Linked DNA regions of Homo sapiens: region 2 is linked to region 1. The links are contacts of gene promoters, found by promoter capture Hi-C in human tissues and cell types (Jung and others, 2019). All regions are on one chromosome and are shown on one strand. The core of a region is centred on a gene start or on the middle of the fragment in contact, and the rest is flanking DNA. Distances in the headings are between cores, read along the strand shown.

The links. Contacts are between HindIII fragments. The study calls those that stand out against the background at their distance.
Region 2: a fragment that was not itself captured here is called in contact with the fragment with the promoter of PSMA5 in region 1 in 1 of the 25 tissues and cell types used here (bladder).

Annotation. Positions count from the first base shown.
Region 1 is chr1:109,421,841-109,429,319 of GRCh38, reverse strand. It overlaps PSMA5 (proteasome 20S subunit alpha 5), which reads left to right and starts at 2,872. Exons shown (of 9, transcript NM_002790.4): 1 at 2,872-3,018; 2 at 7,394-7,460. The coding sequence starts at 2,990. RefSeq lists enhancers at 2,312-2,371, 1,878-2,809. The HindIII fragment of the contact is 7,725 bases long and covers 1-7,248 here.
Region 2 is chr1:109,972,708-109,980,186 of GRCh38, reverse strand. No RefSeq gene overlaps it. Among named protein-coding and RNA genes, the nearest start is that of AHCYL1, 8.3 kb to the left of the region's middle. The HindIII fragment of the contact is 4,452 bases long and covers 351-4,802 here.

The DNA.
Region 1 (7,479 bases), core at 1,623-4,122:
AAAAAAATAAATACTTATTTACTAAACAAATGTATCTAGAGCATATGCCAGGTGCTAGGCTGAACAAGAGAGTACTGACCCTCAAAGAACTCACATTTCCATTATTTTCCTTTTTCCCCCCTTTAACTTAAAAAATTATTTCTGTTGTGGTAAAATATCCTAACATAAAACTTACCATTTTAACCATTTTTAAGTGTACAATTCAGTGACATTAAATACATTCACACTGTTGTGCAACCATCACTACAATCCATCTCCAGAACTTCATTATCATCCCAAACTGAAATGGTGTACCCATTAAACCCATTAACTCCTCATTCCCCTTTTCCTCCAGCCCTAGATAATCACTATTCTACTTTCTGTTTCTATGAATTTGACTATTCTAGGTACCGAACATAAGTAGAATCATACAATATTTGTCTTTCTGTGTCTTGAGATTTCGCCTAGCATAAGGTCTTCAAGTCTAATCCAAGTTGTAGCATGTATCAGAATTTCATTCCTTTTTAAAGGGTGAACAATATTCCTTTGTACGTACACACATTTTAACTTCAATTACTTTTAAATAGCTAATTTCTCATTTTATTTCTTTCAAAGACACATTATGCTAGCTGCTAGATTGTTACAATGCACTCTCTTGGGAGAAAAGATTTTCCTTCCTATCCACAATTACCTGCAGCTCCCCTTCATTTATGTTATATATAGCACAAACACATTTACCCAGAGGAGATTCTACATTCAAGAACATTTCGTAAGCAATTCACTACTGTCTCTGACATTGATAGGGTCTGCAGAGCACCATGGAACCCTGGGTGCTCAGGAAATATTATGCTAAAGTACCTACGTAGTAAAATAACTCCGTTTTTTTTGGTTTTTTTTTGAGATGGAGTCTCACTCTGTTGCTCAGGCTGGAGTGCAGTGGTGAGATCTTGGCTCACCGCAACCTCTGCCTCCCAGGTTCAAGCAACTCTCTGCCTCAGCCTTCCGAGTAGCTGGGATCACAGGCACCCAACATCACGCCCAGCTAATTTTTGTATTTTTAGTAGAGACAGGGTTTCACCATCTTGGCCAGGCTGGTCTTGAACTCCTGACCTCGTGATCCACCCACCTCGGCCTCCCAAAGTACTGGGATTACAGGCGTGAGCCCCTGTGCCTGGCCATAAAAGAACTTCTAAAGAGCAGCTGTAGTGAATTTACGACCAAGACTTTTCCATAGAAAATAACTGATAAGGTGAAAAAAAAAAAAAGCTTGTCAGAAAGCTGACAAGAAAGCTAAAAATTACCATTCTTTTCTCAGAAATCTAACAGATCCCAGAGGATTGCTACTTGGAGTTCTTCCTCAGTTTTATTAGTGCTAAACATCTGATTGGCCAGGGATGACCAAACTAAACTCCTACTGAATCCATGAAGGAAGTCAGAAAATAAAGGGTGGGGAAAACTAATCTTGGTTAATACTCAAAAGGCTTATTTTTACATTTCCTGCACCTTTGAAATGCCTTGGTGACTTACAAACCTAATCTAGGACCAAGAATGAACTTTACTGGAGAGATACAGGCCTTGAGAGGTTAAGGACTTGACTAGTGGTATCACATTAACAACTGGAAATGAGATGCTGGCATTTCCCTTTCCAGCATATACTGCCTGATAAATGATTTCTTTCCCCCGACTCCAGCTTTAAGGTGTAAGTGACAAATAGAAATTGTTCATGTTTATGGTATACAACGTGACGTTTTGATATACATATATATACACACACACACTGCAAATAATTAAATGAAGCTAATCAACATAATCCATCATCTCACATACTTTCCTGTGGTGAGAACATTTAAGGTGTACCCTCTTCACAATTTCAAGTACACAATATATGATTATTAACTATAGAACTCATCCACCTTCTCTGACTGAAACTTTGTATCATTTGACCAACATTTCCCTATATTCCCCACCCCCGTGCCAAGACTTCTTACTTGCCTTTCTTGAACAAATACTTGAATTACAGTGTTATTACGAAGCTGCAAAGTTGCTCCTCAAGCAACTTATTGAAGGGAAGCAAGAAGCGTCGAAAAAGAAAGCGCTTTTTTTTTTTTTTTTTTTTTCGGATAGGGTTTGGCTGTTGCCCAGGCTGGAGTGCAATAGCACGATCTGGGCTCAAAGAAAACACTTATTTTTCACAAACAACAGAAAAAGCAGTGAATATTTTGAAGTCTGGATCCTGAACTCTAGGTTATTTAGGTCTGAAACCTGTACTAGGGGGAGGGGTGCAAGAAAGAGTTGATAAAATTACCTTAACCATGTGGAAACTTTAAGACTTTCTTACATACTAACCCCTCGCCCCCCACTTTTCTCAATAAACGAGCCAAACTGGCTGAAACGAAGGGACTCGTCCGCGGCGCCGGCTCAGACCCACTGTAGCCGACTCATTACCGCCCAAAGTCCTGGAGCCCTCGACCGGGCATGGAGAACACCGTGGAGGAACCCTAAGAGAGGGAATCCTGCGAAGAGAAGTCAGGTGGTGGCCTTGCCGGAAACGGGACCAAAGTCCTCTAGCTGGGATTACGGGAGCCGGCGAGGGACCTATTATGTCAGGGTTCAGACAACCCAGCTCTGCATGCAAGCCTTTCCAATTGCCAGTCTTGGGGCGGGCTCACATCTTCTCTACAAGGCGAACTCACTACACGCCTTGGGTGCCTATCGTCCCTAGCAACCACCCGCGATTTAAGGCGGAAGTACCTCCCTGGTCCTCCTCCTCCTCCGGACCAACCAAGCCCTCGTGAGGAAGCGCGTTGGCCCAATCACCTAGGCGGGAACTACTACCAGCCAATAGGAAGCAGGCACAGGAGGGCGGGCTAAAGAGGTCGCGGTCGCACGCGCAGTTGGTCCTTAGTACTGCGGCCGTGTGGGTGAGTTGGCTGCCGGTGAGTTGGGTGCCGGTGGAGTCGTGTTGGTCCTCAGAATCCCCGCGTAGCCGCTGCCTCCTCCTACCCTCGCCATGTTTCTTACCCGGTCTGAGTACGACAGGTCCGTGCAGCTGGGGGACGTCGGGTGGGAATTATGGGTGGGCAGGCCCGGGACCTGGCCGCGCGGCCTGGGTTCTGCCGTGTCATGGGGCTCCCCAGGAACCCGAGACTGGCCGGACCTGGGGATGTTATGCCCTCCTCAGGCGCCCGCCGTCCTTCCCCAAGCTAGACCACATCGGCGGCACTTGTCCTACCGCTGAGTCACCCCTGGGTCCTAACTCGGTGCGGAAGCGAGAAGCTCCGGCTGGTGCTTGGTAAAGAAGGCGTGAGGAGCCGGAACTCCTACCTTGAACCCGGAGAAGGCCAAGGGTCACTCTTTGCTCCGTTCATCTTTTCGTGCCTAGTATGACTGCCTTGAACAAACAAACAAAAAGTTAAACGTGCTTCCTGGAAGAAAAAGCAACTGGTTTGTAGTAGGGCATGCTGCGGTGTATAGTTTCTTCAGAAGCGCGAAGGCAGTCGTAGCTTTGGCTGGATATATTGTCTGGAGTCTGATTTTATAGGAACTGGAATTTAGAATGGTTTTCAAGAGATTTCTCATCATGCCGATTCCAATTGACCAAAATTTTTTCTGACTTTTTAAAAGTTTAAAGCAAGTTTTAAAAAACTTTTGTGGTATGAAAATGTTCACAATATTAAGTTGTACATATATATGCTGTAGACATTTTTACTTTCAGTTTCTGTTTTCGTCAGTTAAGTTTTTACATAGCTACTCTTTTTTAAAGTCAGGGAAGGCAGACATTTTCTTTGTACTGAGTGGTATGAGATGCTGCATTTCCTGTCAAGTATATGCTGATCCTGTCGAAGTTTTACCACCTGCAGTTACCACTTTTTCATCTTTTTTACTGACTCGTAGAAGATGTGTGTGAAGTTTTGACATATTTCCCCACTGTCCTATAAAGTGACTTTGTTGGTCGATATTTAACTTCCAGAACATTGAAGAGAATCATCTTCGGGTGACATAATTTTGAGTTAGGGTGTGTATGATAGAAATTGTTATGCTTATCAGAAGGCATTTATTAAATTTTGTGGCCATTTACTTAACATATGTATTGACTGCTTTGTTACTTATTTTTCTGTCTTCCCAAGACGGCCTAAAATACATCCCTTTTTATTCTCTTAGTTAATGTGCTTGAGTGCTTGCTGTGAACAAGGCACTGTTCTAGGTGCTGGTGCTACAGCAATGGACAAAATCAAGCTCCTTGCTCGCATATAGGAGACTCTTTTGAGACAGTCTCGCTCTGTGGCCCAGGCTGGAGTGCAGTGACGTGATCTTGGCTCACTGCAACCTCCCCCTCCTGGGTTTTGTTTGTTTTTGAGACGGAGTCTCGCTCTGTCGCCAGGCTGCAGTGCAGTGGCATGATCTCGGCTCACTGCAACCTCCGCCTCCTGGGTTCAAGCGATTCTCCTGCCTCAGCCTCCCGAGTAGCTGGGACTACAGGCGCGCGCCACCACTCCCAGCTAATTTTTGTATTTTTAGTAGAGACAGGGTTTCACCATGTTGGCCAGGATGGTCTCGATCTTTTGACCTCGTGATCCACCTGCCTTGGCCTCCCAAAGTGCTGGGATTACAGGAGTGAGCCACCGCGCCTGGCCTGCCGCCTGGGTTTAAGCAATTCTCTGACTCAGCGTCCTGAGTAGCTGGGATTACAGGCGGTGCCACCACGCCCGGCTAATTTTTGTGTTTTTAGTAGAGACAGGGTTTCCTCATCTTGGCCAGGCTGGTCTTGAACTCCTGACCTCGTGGTCCACCTGCCTTGGCCTCCCAAAGTGCTGGGATTACAGGCGAGAGCCACCTCGCTCGGCCTGAGACTCTTAAAGAATTGTTTACAGGTACAGTGGCTCATGCCTGTAATTCCAGCACTTTGGAAGGCCGAGGCAGGATTGCCTGAGCTCAGGAGTTGGAGACCAGCCTGGGCAACATAGTGAGACCTCATCTCTACTAAACATTAAAAAATATCAGCCGGGTGTGGTGGCGCTGACCTTGTCTCCAAAAAAAAAAAAGAATTGTTTACAGAAGTAACTATAGTGTGAGTCAGAAATATATTAATGCCATTAGAGAAATTCAAATCAATACCATGGAAGTTTTGATGAGGGATTGCATTCAATATGAGACGATCATGGAAAACTTCACAAAGGAGCTGACATTTAAACTAGGTTTCTTGAAAGAGTAGGAATTTAATAAAGACAGTGAGATCAATAGTTGTGGGTTGGAGAATATGGGATAAATGAAGGAGGGGCAATGGAAAAGCACAATACATTTTGGGAAAAGTCCAGTCTGACTGGCACATATGATACGTGTATGGGAACAGCAGGAGATAATGGGAAAAACAGGATGCTGCTAGATATTGAATGGTTTTTAATACGAGGCTAAGGAGTTTGGGTCCTATTTCTGTAGGCAACTGTGTGCTGTTAAATAATAATTGTGTTTTACAGAGATTAATTGTCTGAATTAGGGGAAAGTGAGTCAATACCTGTTAGTGTTAGGCTATTAACAATAGTTAGGTGAAAGGTAATGAGGGCATTGAGAAGGAAGAGTGATGTGTTACTGTGGAGGAGGAATTGATATGAATTGGTATGACTTAGCATATAGTTGGATATGGGAAAAGATGGGGAGGAATGAGTCAGATCATTTAGAACTTCGTATGTTGGGAACACTGGAAGATTTGAGATGTTTTAAATTAAAACTGAAATTGGAATGGCAGGAGATGAAGTCAATTTTGCAAGGTGGCTGGATTTAAAGAGATAATATTTCAAACTGGAAAACGTTAAGTGTTAAGTGCTAATAGGATATGCAAGTGGAAATGTTCAGCAAACATTTAAATTAGTTAGGAAAGAGGTGAAACTGGTAGTAGAGATTTGGAAGTAACTTGTGCTTAGCACTCTCCCAGGCTGGAGTGTAGTGGCACCATCTCGGCTCACTGCAACCTCCGCCTCCTGGGTTCAAGTGATTCTCATGCCTTAGCCTCTCAAGTAGCTGGGATTACAGGCACCTGCCACCACGCCCAGCTAATTTATGTGTTTTTAGTAGAGACGGGGTTTCACCTTGTTGGCCAGCCTGGTCTCGAACTCCTGACCTCAGGTGATCCGCCTGCCTCATCCTCCCAACGTGCTGGGATTACAGGCGTGAGCCACCACGCCAGGCCAAAAGCACTACTATATGACATGTTACCTGTTGTAAAGTCTGGACTCCATAAACCACGGATTGCAACCATCTCATTCATTTGTTCACATATTTTTTGTGTCCATTGTGTGCTCAAAGCTTTTATAGCTGAGACCATGATTGGTGCCTCTTCTCCGTAGGGATTTCCAGCACACTTGAGCAAGGAAAGGTGGAAAGTGTTAAGTGTTAAGGGGAAGTGTTTAGAGAGGAAAGCAGTCTGACATGTAAGTTATATAAATATTGAGTGAATGAACTAGGTTAGAATTAGGAACTACATGGATCTCAGTCTGTTAAGATAACAATAGTAATTCATACAAATAAGTAGAGAAATGTACCTGTGACTAACTTTTAGTAAAAAGTAATAATTAGGCCCAGGCACAGTGGTTCATGCCTGTAATCCCAGCATTTTGGGAGGCCGAGGCGGGTGGATCACGAGGTCAGGAGTTCAAGACCAGCCTGGCCAATATGGTGAAACCCCATCTCTACTAAAAATACAAAAATTAGCCGGGCGTGGTGGCATGCACCTGTAGTCTTAGCTGCTGGGGAGGCTGAGGCAGGATAACTGCTTGAACCCAGGAGGCGGAGGTTACAGTGAGCTGAGATCGCACCCGCCTGAGCGACAGAGCGAGACTCTGTCTCAAAAAAAAAAAAAAAAAAGTAATAACTGTGTTTTATAGAGATTGTCTGAATTAGGGGGAAAACTCTTCCTACTTGCTCCACGAGTCAATACCTGTTAGGAGACTATTACAAACGTTAGGTGAAAGGTAATGAGGGCATTGAGAATGGAAAGAAGAGTGATAACCCCAAGTATTAACGTCATATGCATGTTATGGGAAGAGGATAAGGAAAAATGCACATTTTCTTGGAAATTGGCTGATAGTTTTGAGGCATGAACTTACCAAAGGAACTGGTAAGTCTATTCAGAATGGATCCAAGTTGATTCAGGATTGAGGCAGAAAAGTCATTTGCTCTCATTTCATCAATTTGGGAAGACTTTCTGGGAGTGAGGCAGAAGTGTTCTATATATAGGTTCCATTGCCTTGAGAAACTGTTAATGTACAAAAAAATGCTACAGATTGTTGTGGGCGAAGTAGAGAATAATGACAATGTGCGTATTCTGTAGCTATCTGAGCTAGTTGTCAAGGAACTTGAATTCAGTGTCTACATGGCTAGTTTTTATGAGTATAATTAATAATTTTTTTTTAAATTATAGGGGCGTGAATACTTTTTCTCCCGAAGGAAGATTATTTCAAGTGGAATATGCCATTGAGGCTATCAAGGTATAGTAGCAAGTAGCAT
Region 2 (7,479 bases), core at 1,327-3,826, 550 kb before region 1:
TCCTTTTGTATTCTGCTTTGATCAAATTACAATATTTCAAAAACACATGACCCGAACGGAGAGCATTGACATACTTGTTATTATTGTCCATGTTTTCCAAGCTTTCTGTCATATTGCTTTATGAGTTTGCTTAACTGTTTTCCTATTGTTCGGTATTTGAATTGTTTCCAACTAGTGCAATATAATGGAATGGAGGGAGGTGGTTTCGGAGTGGGTGTGGGGATGGCTTTCAAGCAAAACAGGCGAAGATGGGTCACAGCACCAGCTCCTGCCAGAGAAAGGGAGCAAAAATGTAAGTAGTGGGGGCAGTTATAATGACTGTAAACAAGGACCAGGATAAGGAGGCACCTTTTGGCCCTAGAGGATCTGAGGTCCTGTGTCTGGAACTCGTGATAGCTGACTCATGGCGAGGCTGCATGGTGTGAGGAAGCAGGAAAACTGGGCAGAGATGTGGGCTCAAATCTTCACTCTGCTACTAACTTGGCCACTGGCATCCTGGACCTTTTTTGACCTCCTCTTCCTCATGCAAGACAGGTTGATAGCTCTCCATCTGGGGCTTGTAATGACCTAATCCAGTAAGATCATAAATATGCAAAAGCTTTGAACAAGTTGCAAATATTGTGCAAATGTAAGGTACTAAGATGTGGGTCCAGGCTAACCATGGAGGGCAAAGGAGCTATTGTTGAGAATTTGGAATTCTCTCTTCGCTCCGCTTCCCGGAATGACAGGAATAAGCAGAAACCCGTCTGCTGCAGGAAAGGATTGTCATTGCTGGTTTTGAGTACTTGTTGACATGTGGATGTGTTTCCTCAAAAGGGAGGGCTGACACTGCCCCAGCCATGAGAAATTGCTGCTTTCCTGGCCCAACCTGGCCCCGGGGTCTGGCTGTGTGACCAGCAGCCCCTTGGAACTTCCTCACATGCTTTTTTTCTAGGTTGGACCAGAGATCCTGATGTATCTTACTTCAGTTCCCAAAGCTGCCACACATTAAAGTTCATACTGAGAAGGCATCCACCAATTGTAAACAATGTTCAAGAAATCTGTTCTGATGACTGTTTGTGCTACTTTGTATGTTTTTTCCTGCTCTTAAGTGTGTATATGGGAGCGGGGAGGATGGAGGTGGGGATGGTGAAGAGTTTACCAAAAAAGTAGAAATTGTGAAACTGGCCTTGGACTTTGGCCTCTGCCCAGTCAGTTATTTACTGAGCATCAGCTTTGTCTCGGGAGCTGTGCTGAGCGCCAGGGATCCCACAGTAAACAAGACAGACACAGTTCCTGTCCTCATGGGGCTTAGAGTCCATAGCAGAGCTTTGTCAGAAAATCAAGGTTCCCAGTACTGTCTGAGAGGGCACACCCTCTCCTTGCTGTCTCCATGTGCCCCACCCTGAGCGGTCTTCCAGAGTGTGTGGCATGCTTCCTCTCCCTGCTTCTGAGGCTGTGTCTAGCCCCATGCTAGGGAAGGAAGAGCAGTCTCTCTCCCGAGTTCAGAGATGCTGACCCACCCTTGAAGTAGCCCCAAGTCTTTTAGAAGCTTCTGGGATACTGCTTCCCTGGCAGATGTGCTCCCCCAGGGCAATGGTGAGTGGGCTGGTGAGATGTAAGTGTCAGCTTCTGGGATAAGGGAGGACACTGCCTGTCTTTGCCTCTCCCAGGCCTGCCTCTCTACCCATAACCTGCAACCTGCCTCTAGGACTGGAAATAGTCCTGGAATCGCAGAGACACAGGTGGCCAGGATGGTTTGATATCCTGGTGGGTACTCCTTCAGGATGCCTGCTGGGGGCTAGTAGAGGATTTGTCTTGACTGGAAAGGCTCTGGGGCTGATGGAGTGGAACAGACAGAAGCTGCCATCTCCCAAAGCTCAGGTGCTCAGGGTCTTGCCCCTTTGCCCTGAAGGGCCCGGCCTGTGGCTGGTTTGCTGGAGCCAGAGGAGAGTGGTCGGCTGCTGGTGGTGCGGAGGCTGCTGCGGGGTGGGAGCCTGCCTTCCTCACCCTCTCTGGTGTGCAGGGCGGGCCCCATTGCATCACCCTTGGAGTCTCTGCTCCTGGCTTTGCAGCCAGCTGGGCCCCTGGAGGAGGGACTCTCCCTGTTTTTCAACAAACCATTAACCATTTCACCCTCTCAAGCCCTCCCTGCAACCAACCTGGATTCCCAAGGCTGCTCCTCATGCCTCTCAACCCTGGTCTTGAAAACCTCCCTTCTCCTCCACGATTCCAGGAGCTCTGCCTGGACAGCCTTTTAAGGGTTGAAGGCTCCACATGCACAACGCAAGCCTGGCCTCTTCCCCGGGGAAAGAGTTAAGCCTTGTCCTCCACACCCTCAGCATTTGTCCCATTCTGCAGCAGTGAGGACAGAGCTCTTCAGCCTCCAACATGAGCTCATGCCACTTCCACACTTCCACAGAGTCCTGACGGAGGGTCAACACAATATTTTAGACCAACGGCAACGATGGATCTCATGCCAGAACCAGGAGCTTGGACCTTGGCCTCTCCACAAAGGCCCTTCAGCCATTTCCTGCAGACCCGCTTGGCCCTTTGACCTCTTTATAGGGGTTCAGGGAAGGAGTGGGTGATGTGAGGGCCTGGAAGGGCTCAAGAGACTGATGGAAGAGAGTCGCAAGTACACAGTGTTTCCCTGTTTCTGTTCGGGCTAGATGAGGAGACATCAAGGGGTGGGGATGGAGAGGCTGTTCCAGTCAGTGAAGCCCAAGCCTCATTCCCGCTCGGGTCTTTTATCTCCCAACCCCAACATTCCCTTCATCGCCCCACCCATTCCAGGGCCTGAAATAGCCCGAAACTTCATCCAAGCCTAGGCCCAGGTCCCAATTTTAGTTCCACAAACATTTGGCTGCTCCATAGCTTGCAGGATCCTGAGCTGGGTCCCGTGGCGGATGCAGAGATGAATGAGGCCCAGCCCTTGCCTTCAGGGAGCTTGCAAAATGTGTCCAGATGACTGCAGTCAGAGGCGGAAGATGCCCGTGGAAGAAGAAAGAAAGACGCTCCCCGTAGAGGGAATGGGGCAGGCTTGTGAAGGAGAGTTGGTTTTGTTGAATCTTAAAGGATGACTAGGATTTCAAGAGGCGGACATGAGGAACACTGACTTTAGATGGAGGGAACAGCAAGAGCAAGAATATGGAGGTGTGAAATGTAGGGTATGCTCTGGAACATGGCCAGCAATCTGGTTTGACTGGAGCACATGGGAGAATGTGGAGCTGCTTGCGGTTTCTGTGGATGTGTGAGTCTGTCTAGATTCCCTACAGGCTGAGGGCTCCCAAGTGCCAATGACCCACAGATTCCCAGAGCTTTACAGAGCAGCCTATTTGTTAATCCTCTATTTAGGAACAGAAAGGTGAGAAACTTGCTCAGACTCTAAAGCACATTCGTGACACAGCGAGGACTGGACCCAGGTTCTCCCACCCTTATCTGTTTTGGCTCAGTTCAGGTCCCTTAATCCAGGAGGCTTCGTCCGTGGAGTTGGCTGACTCAACAGACTCTGCCATCCCTTAGGGGTCCAAGGAGAAGTATGAAATGAACAACCAGTGATCATGGATGAACACATGAATGCTCCTCATGGTGTTGCATATTTGCGTATTAATGAGGAAGGAATAGCTTCACGACACTTGATGGGAAAGACATGCCAGTATTTTTTATTTTCCCACATTTATTTAAATCTGGTCCCAAATCCCATCCACAGTGGGTGAAAAGTCTAATATCATTTTTAGGGCTTCCTCTCTTGGCTCATTGGATTTTACAAAAAATAAAACAAAACAAAAACCCCCAAATAAACAAAGAGTTCGTTCTTGCAGGACTGGAGCAGCTGGTTGGGATTCAGTGGAGCTCGCCACTGCTAATGGCTGCCCCTCAGACTGTAGGCAGGTCCTCCCTGTCTGTGGGTACTGCTTCTCCAGGCAGGCTGGGGAGCTGCCCACTCACAGTGGTCTCTCCCAGCAGCAAGCTACTTAGTGGGCTTTCTTCAAGCCCCCTCACCCCCAGCTCTACCTCAGGTTGTGCCATCCCCAGGGTGGAGGGAAGAGTTCCAGTTGGATCTCAACTGCTGCCACTTGTGGACACTCGTGATCTCCCACCCTCTTTCCTGGTGCTGGAAGTCACTGCCCACAGGTAAGGCTACTCTGCTTTTCAATGGAAAAACCACCTTCCAACCTCTTTGACATCCTGGACTTGAAGCCCTGGCTGCCCCCTTGGCAGGATGTGGAGAAAATGCTTCACATTCTTTTCTGAAGAGTCCACAGCCAAGAAAACCAGATATGGCTGATTTCTCAATCATGTTATTATGCCACACTAAATGTTCAATTAATCGCTATGTTACACTTACAACAGCAAAAGAAAAGTTCAGCAGTAAGTGACTAAAAATACCGTACAGTCATAGAAGGCCATACTGTGTAGCCTGGCAGAAGGATATTTAATGACATGGAAAGTTGTTCATGATAATATTGGTAGCTGAAAGAAAGCAGTTTTGAAAACAGCATCACGGTGTGACCCAATTTTTTGGTAAACATGAAATTATATATTTATATAAAGAAAAAATAACTGAAAGGTAAACACCAAAATGCATATTTCCTCTATGTGGTGAGATTACAGATCATTTTTATTTTCTCATTTTTGCTTGCTTCCTTTTTCAAAAATTCTGCAATGAGTGTGTATTACCTTATGTTGCTGAATAATTCAAATTAAATTTTAATTTAATTTTTTTTTTTCCTGAGACAGTTTTGCTCTGTCACCCAGGCTGGAGTGCAGAGGCACAGTCATAGCTCACTGCAGCCTCAAGCTCCCAGGCTCAATTGATCCTCCCACCTCAGCCTCCTGCGGAGCTGGGACTACAGGTGTGTGCCACCACATCCAGCTAATTTTTTATTTTTAGTAGAGATATGGTCTCACTATGTTGCCCAGGCTGGTCTTGAACTCCTGGGTTCAAGCAATCCTCCTGCCTCAGCCTCCCAAACTGTTGGGATTACAGGCATCAGCACCATGCCCGGCCTAAAATAATCTTTTAACCTACAAAAGTAAAACATACTCATTGTAAAAAAAATCTAAACAAACAGATGTACATGCAACAAAAGTGGAAAATTTTCTATCCCTCTACTGACTCCCACACTCCAGGTGTAGAGAGGGGGAACCTCACCTCCACATCATATTTTCATATGTGGATTTTAAAATTGTACATATGGTACTATCCATATTATTTGGCAAGCCCTCCTGTGATAGTTTCCTAATAAAATCAAGATAACAATGATACCCACCTTATTAGGATATTTATCAGGATTAAATTAGTTAATACATGTAAAGCTCTTAGAGCAGTATCTGGCATATAAAAAGCACCACATGAGTTTTAACTATTTTAATATACTTATTAATCATTTATTTCCCACTCTACTTCATAAACATCCCTCCACATTAGGACTACATACATTTAATACTTAGGAAAAACTTAAAAATAGTTTTTTTAAAAAAGTGGAACAAGAGAAATGAATAACTAACTTCTTGTCTATTCTTCCCACCACTTTGAGAGGGGCTGCCTGGTGGAAATTTCGCCCTTTGTCTGCTTTCCCATGTCCTAGCCGATGAGCCGGGATGGCCTTTATCTGAACAACCATGGGCCTCAGGTGGGCAGTCTCCTCAGCCAAATGCCATGCTTTGCTAGAGGCCTGGGTTACCTGACCTATATGTACTTTTCTGGAAGAAAAGGAAACAGAAATACCCTCAGCTCCCTGGAATCTACATAGTTGTGAAATGCACAGAGGTCTTGTCTTAGTTGACCAAGTTGGTAGATTTTGTTCCACTTTGGCTGTGGCTATGAAATAGAAGAAGAAAAAGACATCAAGTTGGCCGTGCAGCTATAGGAAACTGTAAACATTTGTTGCCTCAGTCACTGAAAATGTGTCAGCAGGAAAAACCCATTTTAACAATTATGATATGACAGCGAGATTATAAAAGTCAGTTATCACCGAGAATAACATGACTATCATCTGTATTTGAAATTCAGGAGCAAAACATAGTCATATTCAATTCACAGACCAACAAATGCTGCCAGGAAGTGTCTTTTATGGGATGTTTGCAGAATCCTTGTCATTTCTTAAGTTCCATCCTTTAAAAATAAAGCATTGGTACATGAACAGGATATCATTGTACCAAGACCAGAAAAAATCAGAAAACTACAGATCAATATCTCTCATGAACATAGACACAAAAGGATTTCTACACCATGCTCATGGGGTTTAGCTAGGGAATGCAAGCCTTGTTCCATATCTGAAAATGAAAAAAAAAAGCAATCAATGTAATCCCCATATTTGCCATTTAAAGAAAAAAGCCATTGCAATTGATGCATAAAAAGCATTTGACAAAATGACATCTATTTATGATAAAAATAAATAAGAGGCATACAGTTTGGACAAGAAGAAATAAAACCATCTCTATTCACATATGACATGATTGTGTATGTAGAAAAGCCTGAAGAATTCACACACACACACACACACACACACACACACACACACTGTATAACTAATAAGTGAATTTGACAAGGTTGCAGGATGTAAGGTCAACATATAAAAATCAATCATATTTCTATATACTAAAAACAAAAATTGAAAACCAAATTCAAAAAAACCAATGCCATTTCCAATAATTAAAAAATGAAATATTTAGATGTAAATATCCTAAAACATGTCCAGGACTTACATGCTGAAAACTAGAAAACATTGATGAAAGAAATCAAAGGAGATCTAAATAAGTGGAGAGATAAACCATGTTCAGGGATTGGAAAGCTCAATCGAGTATACATTCAATTCTCTGCAAATTGATAAATAAATTTAACTCAATTCTAATCAAAACCCTGGCAGATTTTTGGTAGGCATAGACAAGCTGATTCCAAAGTTTATACAGAAACAAAAAGGAGCTAGAATAGCTAGAAAAATTTTGAAAAAGAATAATAAAAGTGGATGAATCACACTACCTGATTTTAAGACTTACCACAAAGCTACAGTAATTGAAACATTGTGGTATTGGAAACAGAAGAGATACAAAGATTAATGAAACAGAATAAAGAATCTAGAAATAGGCCGGGCGCGGTGGCTCACGCCTGTAATTCCAGCATTTTGGGAAGCCGAGGCGGGTGGATCACAAGGTCAGGAGATCGAGACCATCGTGGCTAACATGGTGAAACCCCGTCTCTAGTAAAAATACAAAAAATTAGCTGGGCATGGTGGCGGGTGCCTGCAGTCCCAGCTACTTGGGAGGCTGAGGCAGGAGAATGGCGTGAACCTGGGAGTCGGAGCTTGCAGTGAGCCGAGATTGCGCCACTGCACTCCAGCCTGGGCGACAGAGCAAGACTCCGTCTCAAAAAAAAAAAAAAAATCTAGAAATAGACACAAACAAATGTTGCCAATTGATGTTTTACAAAGGTGCAAAGGCAATTCACCGGAGAAAGGATAATCTTTACAACAAATTGTGTTGGAACAGATGGAT